Linked DNA regions of Homo sapiens: region 2 is linked to region 1. Evidence: promoter capture Hi-C in 16 types of primary human blood cells and fetal thymus (Javierre and others, 2016). All regions are on one chromosome and are shown on one strand. The core of a region is centred on a gene start or on the middle of the fragment in contact, and the rest is flanking DNA. Distances in the headings are between cores, read along the strand shown.

The links. The method cuts DNA at HindIII sites, captures the fragments that hold promoters and counts their contacts. A CHiCAGO score of 5 or more calls a contact.
Region 2: a fragment that was not itself captured here is called in contact with the fragment with the promoter of SLC16A4 in region 1 in 3 of 17 cell types (M0 macrophages, M1 macrophages and M2 macrophages); the score reaches 6.8 in M0 macrophages.

What each region holds. Positions count from the first base shown.
Region 1 is chr1:110,386,159-110,393,480 of GRCh38, forward strand. SLC16A4 (solute carrier family 16 member 4) reads right to left here and starts at 4,868. Exons shown (of 9, transcript NM_004696.3): 1 at 4,707-4,868; 2 at 3,079-3,197. The coding sequence starts at 3,165. The HindIII fragment of the contact is 6,987 bases long and covers 252-7,238 here.
Region 2 is chr1:110,186,553-110,193,874 of GRCh38, forward strand. It overlaps SLC6A17 (solute carrier family 6 member 17), which reads left to right. Exons shown (of 12, transcript NM_001010898.4): 7 at 5,420-5,661; 8 at 5,954-6,146. Among named protein-coding and RNA genes, the nearest start is that of KCNC4-DT, 20 kb to the right of the region's middle. The HindIII fragment of the contact is 2,962 bases long and covers 1,661-4,622 here.

The DNA of each region.
Region 1 (7,322 bases), core at 3,618-6,117:
CGTGTAGCAGCAGTGAATGGTTAGGACTTGTCTCTAATAACTGAGTCCGTGTCCACTATGTATCAAGAAGACCAAGGGCAGAGCCTTTGCACCTACCATGCTTCCCGTCCCTTAACTTGAAGTCTTCCAACTTTGTTTCAGTTTTGACTCAAAGATATTAAAAATCTCTCCCAAGGTCTAGGTTTTTCCTTAGTTAATTTAGCAGACTACATAAATCTGCATTATTCTACATAATCCCATGTCTTAGACCAAGCTTGGTGGGTTTTAGTTCTGTTACCAGAGTCCACGTCATACATTGTAAATGGCTCACTCCAAAATAAAGCAAAAACCCTAGAACTTCTCCAGTCCCCTCATTTTCTTTTTGTTTTTAAGAGCAGTTAATTGGGTTGAACCTGGCAGGAACACCTTAAGCAGGACTTCCCCCACACCCCACCTCCAATAAGAGCTTCCTCACTAGATCATTTTAATTATTGTCTGGGAAAGGAGTTGGATCAGCCTCAGTGACTTATTTTCAATACAGGCACCAGGCTTTGTCAGAGTTAGTTTTATCTAATAACAACTTCTTATCCTGCGTCCTTTTCTAGTATCACCCTAGCTCCTCCTGACCTTCACAGGCAAACTTCTGTAAAAAATGGTCTATTAGGTATCTCCACTTTCTGTCATTCTGCTACTCCACTGAAAACTAAAGTTCACTAACTTTGGCCCCCACTGCTCCACTGTACTAGCTCTTATCAAGGTTATTAGATTTCTTTGTTGCTAAACCAATAGAGTCTTGTTATTTCTCTCCTATTTGACCTCTCAGTAGCATCTGCTCGTCACATTTCTCTGAAATGCAAATCTATCACATCCCTGCTTAATTTTTCTCATTAGCTTCTCATAGCCTCAAGAGCCATTCTCATCTCTTCAGTTTCATCAACTATCCCCTTCATCCTTATTTGTTTATTCATAAATGTGTGCAGCTATCAATTCATCCATCCATCTATCCATCCACCAACAGTATTTTACTGAGTGCCTACTATGTTCCAGGCTGTATACTGGCACTGGGCTTACGGTAATGAGCATATACTCATGAGCAATGCAGACATAGACCCTGCCCCCATGGAACATTCAGTCTAGTAAGACAGACTGAATACAGAAAACAGTCATACAAATATATAAAGTGTGGTAAGTTGGTTAGAATGAATCTCTCTCTCTTTTTTTAAGTAGGAAGCTCCCAAAGAACATTGTTATTTTTCACTTACTAGGAGCTCATCTGTTATAGAAAAGAACAGTTGTAAGTCATACAGAAACAAAAGCACAGTCATTCAAGTATCCACATTACAACTGTGGGGGATTAGCCCCTGAATTTATTGTTAACATTTTGAGGATCCAGTGCATTTTTTGTGCTTAGTAAGCAGTATCACACCCTAAAAGTGGGACAGTGTTTATTAATCTGGTTATTAGATGGTTTTTCCTATCAGCAACTAAATTGATCAAAAACCATTCTATCCTCAGAGGATAATGTAGAAAAAGTCAGGGTGGTTACTGGGGAGAAAGGCAGGAGAATTAGAGATCCTCACCAACAGTGCCTATTCTGCAAAGCCTATGATTTAGGGGGGTGGCCCAGCCCCAGGAAGGGCTCTCAGACTTAGGGCATCCTTTAGTTTCCCTATTAGTAACATTTCTAGGGGGAAAATGAGATTGTTTAGTACTGAAGCTAATGTTTAGCAAGTACTACTATTATGTGTTAAGAGTTTTGTATTACATAAATCCTGGCTGGGGACCTCTGCCCCTATCTTGTCTAGCACGAGGGAGGAGGCCTGATGTTTTCCCACCATCCTATTTGTAGAATTCTTAGATATCTGCATGTGAACTATAGGATTATTAGAAGGCACCAAGACCTGTGCTACCTTTCCCCGTGAGCTGCTTACTGTAGGGCTGAGTAGGGGGGAAGTGTCGGCAAGAAAAGGGTGTTTTTTTTTGAGTGCATCTCAAAGTTAATAGAACTCTGGAAACACTTAAGAATTGTGCAGCTGGTGCCACTCTCTGGAGAGCTGTGTGGGGCATAGCTGGGGTTCACCAACATTCTGGAATGGGCATGCTGATGATGCAGATCACCACTCTCACACCTCAACCCCTGGGAGGGTGAGGGAAAGAAGTTAATTTAAAAAATGGAATGCCTCGTCTAGTTGCTTATGGGTAAAGGAGAAGAATCAGGCTCCCCCTTCAAAATCCTTGTCCTCCCTTTCCAAACACATCGGAAATATAGATAGCATAAACTATAGTTAGTGGGGATGGATTGGGAAGTAGACAGCAGGCCAAACAGAGGAAATGTCCCCACCCCTTATCGGTAGAAGGGGCTGTGCCCACAGTGTTCTATCTATGCTGGGCTGAACTGGGGAGATCACCCCCAGAGCACTTTTTAGCACCTCCCAGTGCTACTTTTGGGATGGTTAAAAGTATGATTGTCCCCAAACCCTAATTGCCATGCAGCCAGTACAGAACTGCTGATTGTGACTGAGCATTCTCAGGTTTAAGAGATGATAGGAAGAGTAGATGACTGGATTCAGGAACACTTCTGTTTGTTTGTTTTGAGAGAGTCTCTCATGGTTGCCTAGGCTGCAGTGCAGTGGCACGATCTTGGCTCACTTCAGTCTCCACCTCCTGATTTCAAGCAATTCTCCTGCCTCAGCCTCCCAAGTAGCTGGGACTACAGGTGCATGCCACTGCACTCAGCTAATTTTTGTATTTTTGTAGTGATCGGGTTTCACCATGTTAGCTAGGCTGGTCTCGAACTCCTGACTTCAAGTGATCCACACACCTAGGCCTCCCAAAGTGCTGGGATTATAGGTGTGAGCCCCCACACCCAGCCCAGGAACATTTCTGCTTTTGCTCTAGGGGCATTTTCAACTTTCTCCTGGGTTCGGCATGGGCCTCTGACTTTAGCAGTTTTTGGCAGCTCCTGGCCTTGTTCCTGCCCACCCCTCCACTCAGATGCCAAAGATTTCCTAAGTGATCCTATTCGTAGGCAGCTCTGAGCCTTTCTCCAGAAAGCCTGCTTTTAGGCAATAGGAAAGGGGGAAAAAAGTGAATTCTTACCAGGAAAAAATGAATCACAATCATCCATCCCCATCCTCCATCCAGGGTTTTAGTGTAAGGTTGGACCTTCCCCTCCCTCTTCAGCATGATGCCTCTTCTATTTTAAATGCAGAAGATCCCTGTGATAAATCCAAGACAGTTGATTCAGTGGACCAGAAACTAATCTAAACTTTTAAACTTTTTATCTGAAAGGGAACGTTCATACATTGTTGGTGGGAATGCAAATTAGTTCAGCCACTGTGCAACGCAGTTTGGAGATTTCTGAAAGAACCAAAAATTGAACTACCATTTGACCCAGTAATCCCATTCCTGGGTATATACCCAAAGGAAGATAAATTGTTCTACCAAAAAGCCACATGCACTTTTATGTTCACTGCAGCATTATTCACAATAGCAAAGACATGGAATCAACCTACGTGCTCATCAACAGTGGGTTGGATAAAGAAAATGTGATACATAGACACCATGGAATACTACACAGCCACCATAAAAAAGAACAAAATCATATCCTTTCCAGCAATATGGATGCAGCTGGACCATTATCTTGAGCAAATTGATGCAGAAACAACCAAATACTGCATGTTCTCACTTATAAGTGGGAGCTAAAAATTGGGTACATATGGACATAAAGAGGGGAACCACAGACACTGGGGACTACAAGATAGGGAGGGAGGAGGGTTGAAAAACTCCCTATTGGATGCTGTGCTCACTATCTGGGTGAGGGGTTCAATTATACTCCAAATCTCAGCATCAGACAATATGCCTTTGTAACAAACCTACACATGTACCCCCTGAATCTAAAATAAAAGTTGAAATGTAATACAAAACAGAAAAAAAACCTCTTTCCCTATGATATAAAACCACTTGTAATTTTTTTTTAACCCCTCAGTTACAGATGAAGTCTGCCTGATGCAACTAAGGACTTAGTTACCTGGAAAGCCTGATCTCAGTGACTGTGGGGTGGCCACTCCTAGAACTGTACTCAGTGTCCCTCCCCCCAGGTCTGCAAGCCAGTTTCTTGGAGAAGCTGTGCGTCACCCTGCTGGTCCTCCGGGTGAACTCTTAAGAGAAATAGAAAGGGAAGGCGAGCCTTGAGTTTAGGAATTCTCCTTAGAAAACACTTGCTAAATGTAAATATTTTTGGAGCTAAACAGACATGACAACGAAATGCGATACCCGCTTATTGAATATATCCTAGATCAGAAAAAAAAGTTGTAAAAGACAGTTTGTGGGGACAGTTGGGGAAATTTGAATATGGACTGTATAATACAGAATACTGTACCAAGGTTAACCTCTTGGAACCTCTTCCACAAGAGAATATTCTTAGGAGATACATGCTAAAGTATTCAGGAGTAACATGACACTATGCTACCTTCTCCCAATCGGTTCCGTAAAATAAACAAGTGTATATAAAGAATGATAGCAAAAAGAAAATGTAAATGTTCTGAGGAAGGGGGAACAGTACTCATTATTTCCCCTGTCGGGTCGAAGGCTGACTGTTTCTAACTGGAAAGGAAAGTCAGCTGGCAGGGTATGCGGAATGGCCATCTGGTGAGCAGGCTGGGTGGGGAGAGATGCCAGTCGTTGTTAGAAAACCAACCCAGCACACAGTCCCATTCCCATCTTACCTTTGATGTGGTGTTCAGCAAAGAAATCCTCCACAGATGGGGCAATTAAGGAAGAAAAATAAATTACACCGTTTTCTGGAATGTTACTCTTTTTCTAAGGCATTTCATTTTGCTGCATTGTGAAAACAAGTGAGCATTGTAAGAGCCAAGGAGGGCTCAGACGATTTAGGCCCTCCTGCTAGTGGACTTTACTTCCTGAGGGGAGGAGGAAAGACTGTGATTTGATGTCATCTCAGGCCCTCCCTCCACCCACAGTCACTCAGAAGGTAGAATTTTTTGCCGCAGGCTCAAAAGCAAGCATGAAGTAAACTAAGTGGAAAGTCCTTTTGGCGACTATGCTCAGGGCAGGGGGATGGGGCTCCAGAGCTCTCATACACTTGTCTTCAAATTTCCTCAGGGAACTTCTCACAACATGCTTATTTTACAGGAGAATATAAAACTCCTGGATGGGTGGTGAGAGAGGCATTTCCTGGGCCACAAACAGAAATCTTCAGTAAGCTCAACCCATTCGTGTGGCCTTTTGTATATTGACTAAAGATTCTGGTTACTAATTTGGGGTTTCAGACCCCATTTTAATTGCATTTTTGAGATCTGATTACCTCAACCACCTCCTGCAAAAGACGTATGCTCGTAGTAATTTTAATGAGATTTTTTTTATTATATTTTGGAAATGGTTAAGGCTGAGACCCCTAGAAAATTACTGGGATAATTCAACTTTCTCTTCCCATTTCCTCCCTCTACCCTCCACATAAAACAAAACAAAACAAACAAGTCAAATGGGAAATTGTCTTTCGTCTCCCACACCAATATTCCAGATTTTAAACCAGAGTATATTTTAGACGAAAGGATGTGTTTTTAGTTTTATCTGGAAAATCTGCACATATTTATGCATGTTCCTTTTTAAGAAGCAAGAGGCTTCTCAGATTCTTAAAATCAAACTCTATAATACTTTTTGATTAAAGTGCTTGCAGAAGGACAGCTTAGTGGTTTGGGAGGGTGCCCTGTAAGTGTAAGCATGGAAGGATTATGCAGTTACATGATGCTGGTGGCAAGGATCAAATAAACATTCAACAGAAGGAGAAAACCCAAAGAGAGAAGGCAAATAAATGCTTTTCAGAGAGCTGTTTGTAATTATGAATACACTCTAGACAACTTTTTTTTTTTTGAGACAGAGTCTCACTCTGTCGCCCAGGCTGGAGTGCAGTGGTGCAATTTCGGTTCACTGCAACCTCTGCCTCCCGTGTTCAAGTGATTCTCCTGCCTCAGTCTCCCAAGTACCTGGTACTACAGGCGCATACCACCACGCCCAGCTAATTTTTTGTATTTTAGTAGAAACGGGGTTTCACCGTGTTGCCCGGGCTGGTCTCAAACTCCTGAGCTCAGGCAATCCGCCTGCCTTAGCCTGCCAAAGTGCTGGGATTACAGACGTAAGCCACCGTGGCCAGCCTGAAAACATTTTTTAGTAAACAAGACTGATTTATTTATTTTTTTGGTGGCACGCTTGTTGCTCTTTTAAAGCAGGGCTATCTATGATTTCTTTTTTTCTTGAGACAGGGCCTGCTCTATTGCCCAGGCTGGAGTCAGTGGCATAATCATGGTTTACTGCAGCCTTGACCTCCCCAGCTCAAGCAATCCTCCTACCTCAGCCTCCTGAGTAGCTGGGACTACAGGCATGCACCACCATGCTCAGCTAATTAATTTTTTTTTTTTTTAAGAGATGGGGGTTTCACTCTGTTGCCCAGGCTGTTTGCAATGTCCTGGGCTCAAGCGATCCTCCCATCCTGACCTCCCAAAGTATTAGGATTACAGGCATAAACCACTGTAAGGAGCCAGCTATCCATAATTCTAATCACAGGATGAAATGATGCTAGGCTATATATATATTTTTCTTACACACACACACACAGAGGAATATATATATACACACATATACATATAGGAACATATACAACTGGGAAGTTAGATTTCAGGAGGGTTCCTACCATTCCTTAAATGATAATAGTGAATCATTGTGCCTAACCTATGTAAACAATACATTATATATGTGTGTATATATTCCTATTCATCTTTGTCTTATAATAGGCTTTATATTGATAGAGAACTCTGATGCTAATGCCTGGGGTCAGATTTGAAATGCGGCAGAACAGCAAGTCATTCATAGAGGCCAAGAGGACAGCAAAGTAATCAGAGATGAACTTCAAACATATGTTTCATAGAGGCACATGAACAGAAATGCAGGCTTGGTGATAATCTCAATTTTGTCAGTTTTTAAGCCCGTAGACTCTGGGCAATTTACTCTCTTTGAGTCTGTTTCTAAAACTCTAAAGCGTAGCTAATATTTTGCAAGGTTGTTGTGAGGATTAACAATATATAATGTAAGATGACTGCACATTGGACCTACTATTGGTACTTGGTTCATGAAAAATAATTTTTGTTAGTCAAATGAGGCCTAATAGCAAGAAGAAAGAATTCTTAAGCCACCTTTGGGATATTAGTTAACATTTTGGCATCTGTACCCAATTGTCTTAATAAAGCTTGTAGGGTCTTTAACGAAACATAAACAATTCCCTCAACTTCTAACCTTTTAACTCTTGGCCCTAAAGCTATTCAGCAAGA
Region 2 (7,322 bases), core at 1,892-4,391, 200 kb before region 1:
TTATTCTAGAAGACAGCATCTTAGCCCAAAAGGCTGGTACAACTTTGTAGCCCCTTGTCTGGTCCCTCCTGCTCAGCTCACAACTCATAGAAAAAGGTCAGCTTTTGTCTAGTCTCTCTCTCTCTCTCTCGCTCCCGACTCTTTCCTTCTCTCACACGTGCCAGCACTGTTCATACAAACAGGAGAGGAGATGGGCTCCACCCCTAAGCACAAAGTGTTGAAAGGAAGACGAGACACATAAACCTGTGACGTGGGTATTGACAAGAGCTGTGAGAGCTCAAGGACCAGAGGCAATTAGGAAAAACTTTAAAGAAGAAATGATATTCATGGTGGGTTTTGAGAAATTTGTAGGAGTTTACCAGAAAGTGAGTAGGAGGAAGGGAATTTCAGGAAAAAATTACAGCCTAGGCAAAGGCCAGAGGTGTGCTTTTGAAGAGGAGTAAGTTACCTGCATGTAGAATGTTCAGAACATAAAGGAATGGAAAAAGATTTTCTAGAAGACAGTGGGGAACCATCAGATATTTTTCAGCATGCAAGCGACGTGACCAGAGCTGTGTTCATCTTGTTAAAAAAAAACAAAAACAAAAACAAAAAACCACTTCAGCTAGATTAAATGTAAAAGTTTAATTGAGCAATGAACAATTCGCTAATCAGGCAGAACAATTCGCTAATCAGGCAGAACAATTCGCGAATCGGGCAGCCTTCCGAGCCAGAGTAGGTTCAGAGACTCCAGTGCAGTCATGTGATGGAAGAAGATTTATGGACAGAAAAAGGAAAGTGACTTACGGAAGATGGAAGTGAGGTGCAGAAACAGCTGGATTGGTCACAGCTTGGTGTTTGCCTTATTTGAAGTTGGTTCGAGCAGTTGACCACATTTGATTGGCCAAAACTCAGTGATTGGCACAAGGGTAGGCTACAGTCTGTTTACACCTCCACTTCTTACAGTTCATGATGTACAGAGAAACCTTTAGGCCAAACTTAAAATATCTAAGGAGGCAGCTTTAGGCTAAACTTGATTTAATAATCTCAACATACCTTCTTTTAGAAAATTTCATAATTCTTCCTAGTTAGAACTCACCAAACTGCTCAGAGCCCTCCCATGAGGTGCTGGTTTCTAGCCTAGGAGAAGCGCCCAGGCTCCAGCAGATTGTGGTAGGGCTGTTGTGATTGACATTTGCGAATACCAGAGGAGGCCAGCCAGCATGCCTTCCAGGCATAAGTCACCCTTATGCCCATTTCTGGAGCATTCTTGAAAAATTATTTTTCAAAAACTCACCCAAGAGATGGGAATTAACACAAGTCCTTTCCCAGTGGAACTATGATTGTTTTCTTCTCCTTTTCTATTCTCCAGATTTCTACTAGGCACAGTACAGGCCCCCATTTCCTTATCCACAATACCAAAATCCAAATAGCCATGAAAAACAAAAATTGGTTTGGTTTGGTTTTGATCCTCCAGAACTCACTTGGAAGCAAAATGACCTGCACAGATGTGAGGCTATTTATAGTCTTTATTGATTCACTTGGTGTGAATATTCATATTTTGCTGCAGAAATACTAACGTGTTTGATTACAGGGTGCTGCCCCAGACCCTGCTGGGGGTGATATGTAATTAAGTAGCATATGCATCACATTACCTTTCTAAAATTAAATTAGAAACAAAAGCTTGTATTCCAAAACCAGTCAGCCCCCAGGGCTTTTAGATAAGGAACCGTGGGCCTGTATTACATTTGTAAAGAAGGTAACATTTCATCTTACTTTAAAAACCAGACATCCGCCTATGCAAGGGGGTGGGCCCCCAGCAGTACAGGACAGCCCTGCCCTGTTTCTCTGGTCACCTGGCTCTCCCATGCTCCGCTGTGGCTATTTTAAACCCTTCCAATCCTTCACACCCTCTGACCTTCCTTCCGGCATACTCATCCCCAGCAGATGATTTTGCCTCCTGCTTTACAGGGAAAACAGAAGCTGCCAAGAAACTCCCTCAGATGACAGAGACAGAAACCGACCATAAAACCTGCCTGCAGCTGCCCCATCCTGTCCTCCCTCCCTCCTCTCTCAAATGAGCAGCCCAAGGGTGGTCCTATGGAGGACAGCTTCCCACCCCATCCCGATCCCTACCCTCCAGCTTTTCAAGACACTCCATTGAAAACAAAAACAAAAAAGAAATCAAGACAACATATAAAAATGCAACCCTTTGTTGATTTCATAGCCTTCTCCGGATACTGCCCTTCTCCTGATCCGAGGCTTGCTTCTCCGAGGACCTGCTTACCCACATTGCCTCCATTTCCTCCCCTCTGCCTCTCTCTTTTCTTCACTTCCCCTGGCTTCTTGCCAGGGAGCAACTCCGAGGAAGCCTCTGAAGCCCCCTGTGGCCTCCTGCGTGGACTCCCTCAGGGTCTTTCACTGGCAGCACTGACCCTTCCTCCTCCAGGCTCTGGGTTTTCCTCTTGCCTCTGCTGCTTCTCCTTCTCTGACTCCCTTTCAGGAGACTCTCCCTCTTCCCTGCATTCAGTGTTGGAGATAGGAGCAGGCTTTTGCTTCTTATCCCTCTGTAACTACAGCCACAGCCTCAGCTCCTGCCAGCACACCTGCTACTCAGAAAGTCTATCTCCAGCTTGTCTCTCTCTGGCTCCAGGCTCATCTGTCCAGCGGACCACTTGGCATTTCATTTTAGATGTCTTAAAGACACATTCAGCTCAACCTTTGTAGAACTAATGTCCTGATCCTCCCTGCCCAACACCATCAACCTGTTCCTCTCCCACTGTCCCCATCTCCACCTGCTCAGGTATGCAGGCCAGAGACATGGCCCTCACCTCGGCCTCTCCCTCTCCAGCATCTCCCATCTCCAGTCCATCCCGAAGGTCTCCTTGGTTTGTCCTGCGAAGATCTCTCCATTGGCACCACCCAGCCCCTTAGCAAAGCCACTGTCCCCTCCAGCCTGGACCCCAGAAGCCGCTTCCTCGAAGGTCTGCTGAATCCACTTATTTCTTTTGGAAATGCACATGATTGTGTCCCCACTTCTTTAAACCCCTCGGTGGCTTCTTGGGTTAGGTGCTTTCTTAGGGTGAAGACAGGATCTGTACAGGCCTTTGATCTAACTTCTCTCCTCTCCCAGCCCTACCTGTGCCACCCCCACCTCGTCCTCACTGCTTCAGCCACCCTGGCACCTTCCATTCCCTTTTACACACCATCCTCTGTCCTATCTCAGGACCTCTGTCCATGCTTCTTCCCGAATGTTCTTCCCTCCCCTTGTGGCCTCGCTTTCATCAGCTTTCAAATGTCAGCTTGAGGACCCCTTCTTCTGGGAAGCCTTGCCTGGCCTCCCAACTTGTTCAGATCCCCTTCTTATGGGCTCTCCAAGCACTGGGTGCCCAGCCTTCACAGCCCTTGTCACATTTGCAATTTAGCATTTGTTCGTGGGATCATTTGACCAATGTGTCTCTCTCCAACTAGAATGTAAACTTGGAGAGCCTGATTGCTTCTATTCCCCATGGCCTCTGCATCGCCTAGCACCAGGCCTGGCCCACAGCAGGTGCTCAGAGATTGATGGATGAGTGGCTACATGTCATTGCCACAGGGAGGCCTTGACACCTTATACCTAATAAGTACACAGGGGTGGGCTGGGGAGAGGGTCTCCTCATAGATGCCAAGGGGCCCTTAGATCCTTAAGGCCTGGGTTCTGGGCTTTCTTGGTGGACTAAAGATGGTTTTACTTATTTTGTGCTGGATGGGGGACCTTAATCTCCCCTGGAGTACACATGCTGTCTGACCAGGCAGTCCTCCTGGGTCTCCATTTGTGCCCAGGCCCTGAAGCTCAAAGGCTCGACTACCATCCCCCACCTCTTTCCCCTCAGCATGGGGGTGCCGCCCTCAGCCTCACTGCTCTGCCAGCGCTCTGAGCTTGCCAACATCTCAGCTGTTGGAGTGCTGCCAGGAGTTGAGACATGCCTAGGAAGCTGCTGAGATGATGGCAGGTGGGCCCTGTGTCCTGGATGTTATTTAGGGCTGTGATATTAAAGACAGCTAAAGTCCAGACGGACCCTAGAGTCCAACACCTCACTGTTCAGGTGAGGACTTACCCACAGGTACTCAGAAGGGGCAGCCGGGCCAGGACCCACACAGGGCTTGTCACCACAGGGAAGTGAACTCTCTGAATTGGCTCCTTGCCTCCTTAGTCTGTCTGGAGTGAGGTCACTTAGGTTCACCTCAGCAGCAAAGGTCACAGGGGAAAATGCTTTAAAGAGTATAGGTGATAGAAAAACTGAGTCAGGAGTTGGTGCTGGGGCCGGGGGCGGGGGCCTGGCCCAGAATATCTATATTTTAGTTATCACTCTGCCCCGACTAACCAGCTCCATTACCTTGAGCAAGTCATTTCATCTTTGGGGTCTCAGTTTACCCTTTAAAAACATGAATAGTAATCCTTGCTTCCTGCACCCCCGCAAAACACAAAACACCCTGTCCTGACGAGGTCAGCCTCATTCTGTTGGGATTGAGTGCCACTACGTACAGGCATTACTTGTTGCTATACATTTGATCCTCACGTTCACTCCGAGACTCTATTACTATTCCCTTTTCTTCAGATGAGTAATCTGAAGCTCATAACACAGTCAGTGCCACTTACCAAAAGCTTCATAGCCATTTAAAGATGGGAGTCAGGATTTGGATCTGGATCTGTCTGAGACTCTAAAGCTCTGTGCTGGGTCCAAGGCTTGGTCCCTGCCCCAAGGAACAAACAATAAAAGGAAAATAGGTTGGAAAGGGGCTTTGGAAATTGCTCCATGCCATCCCAATGCTGTTGCAGTTCGGGCTCCTGTCAGGTGTGAGGGCAGATGGAAGCTTAGGCGGAGGCCCTTTCTCCAGGAATTGTCTAGGTTCTGTGCTTCAGGTTGGGTGATGGTGGGGAAAAGCAGGCGGTTTGGGTTTTTTTTCCTTTCATGAGGTAGAGGAGTTTGAGGTGGAGAAGGCGTCAGGGAGATTCTGGTATTCTCAGTTTTCTTGTGCTGCTGTGCAAGCTGTTCACTGCAGGACTCTAGGAGGCACCTGTCACACTGTAGTCCAAGTGAATGGCACTCTCTAGAGCTGTGTACTACATGACCATATGTGATGGCCTTGACGATGTTCCTTAGTATGATGGCTGCATGGGAAGCCATGGTAGCAGTTAAATTACTATGTAAGCACTCAGCATTTATGTTGTCTTACCAAGTCCTCACAGTCATCCTCTGAAGTTGATACTCTTGTGATCTGCGTATTGGGGAAACTGAGGCTCAGAGGAGTAGGGAAATTGCCCAAGTTCACACAGCTTCTTACCACTATGGGCTGCTGCCTCTGAACTCTGTTGAGGCTGAGAAAGGGGGTGTGCACATGAATAAAACCATCCCCTCTGTGTCTCTTTTCTTCCTCCTGCCTTGGTCTTCTGCCATAGCTGGACAAGATGCTGGACCCCCAGGTGTGGCGGGAGGCAGCTACCCAGGTCTTCTTTGCCTTGGGCCTGGGCTTTGGTGGTGTCATTGCCTTCTCCAGCTACAATAAGCAGGACAACAACTGCCACTTCGATGCCGCCCTGGTGTCCTTCATCAACTTCTTCACGTCAGTGTTGGCCACCCTCGTGGTGTTTGCTGTGCTGGGCTTCAAGGCCAACATCATGAATGAGAAGTGTGTGGTCGAGTAGGTGGCATCTCTCCTCCTGTCCCTCCTTCTCCCTGTCTACCTTACCTGGGAGTGGGCAGGGGTGGGGGCGCAGGTGTGCATGGGGAGAGAGGTCCCCTCCACTCAGACTGAGGAATGGAGATCAGAGGAGCACTCTCTGTCCCCAGCTCCGGGCCACAGGGACAAGCTCAGAGATGCCTCTGTCAGTGACCCATGAGGTTCCCACCTGGGTGCCTGGGAAGAGCCTCCAGGATCTCACCCATTGCCCACCCCTGCCTTCTTACCTGGTCCTCTCGGTTTTGTGCTGCAGGAATGCTGAGAAAATCCTAGGGTACCTTAACACCAACGTCCTGAGCCGGGACCTCATCCCACCCCACGTCAACTTCTCCCACCTGACCACAAAGGACTACATGGAGATGTACAATGTCATCATGACCGTGAAGGAGGACCAGTTCTCAGCCCTGGGCCTTGACCCCTGCCTTCTGGAGGACGAGCTGGACAAGGTGCGGGGACAGGCTGCCCTTCCCAGGACAGGCAGGAACCCAGAGAGCAGCTGTGGCCGGCGGGAGCTTGGGCTCAGGCCTCAGGATGCTGACAGGTAGTCATTAGTTTACTTGGTAAGCAAGGATCTGCTGTGTGTCCAGAGGGAGTGAAAGGGAAGAAAGGTATTGGCCAAAGTCCCTGCCCAGAGGTAGGCTTGAGCCTAGACAAGAAGTAGGGCAGACACACACCTCTCAGAAGTCACAGTAAGTGTATGGGACGATGTTTCCATTTACTGAGTGGGCTTCTCGTGCATCAGTCACTGCCACAGGTAATATACTCAGAACAGTGCCTTGACATGGTGTGCATCAAAGAAGTGTTGAAGTTAGTGTTTGCCCGTTGCTGTCTATCTCTTTTGACGCTCAAGACAGCTCTATGAGTTGAGTATTCATATTGTTCCCTACCTTACAGATGAGTAGCCTATGAGATGGGGGGCTTGATCAAGGTCTCATAACTAGTAAGTCAGAGAGGCAGTTAGTTGGGTCCAAATCCAGTTAGTTGGGTCCAGAGCCCATGCTCAGGATCACCTCTTGATGCTTCTGCCCCTCCCCAACCTGTCCCCATTCCAATCTCACTGCCATGATGACTCTTAGACTTTAGGGTGGTGCTGGGGGTGCTGACTCCTCCTCAGTGCTCAGGCCCATGTTAGGACACCTTGCTTCTATTTATACTTACATAGCTGGACACTTTCAAAATGACTGTTCTGTTAGAAGGGGTAACAGGAAAGGGACATACCCACAGCATCTTGGGAACCAGGCTGGAGCCAAGGCTCACATGGGGCGGAGCCAGCTCCCATCAGCCTGGGTCAACCCTGTCCTTCATGGGACTGGGGAAGGGGGTGCTTTCCCTGGGCTCTATGTTAAAAGTCAGCTCCATTGGATGGTACCATCCTAATGCTGAGGGAGCTGCATCCTACACCCCAACCCTTTCCCTGCGGATCAAGAGCAAAAGAGCCCAATCTCGGGCCCACTGCCCTGGTTTCTTCCCCAGGTAACTGGCAGCATAAAGGACCTCCCCTTTTCACATTCTCTGAAACCCTGCTCAGTTCTCATGGGCATGGCCTGGTTCTCTGAATTAAACTAGGTTTATAGCAGTGTTTTCATACAATACAACTCCGATAGCATTCAAATGACAAGATT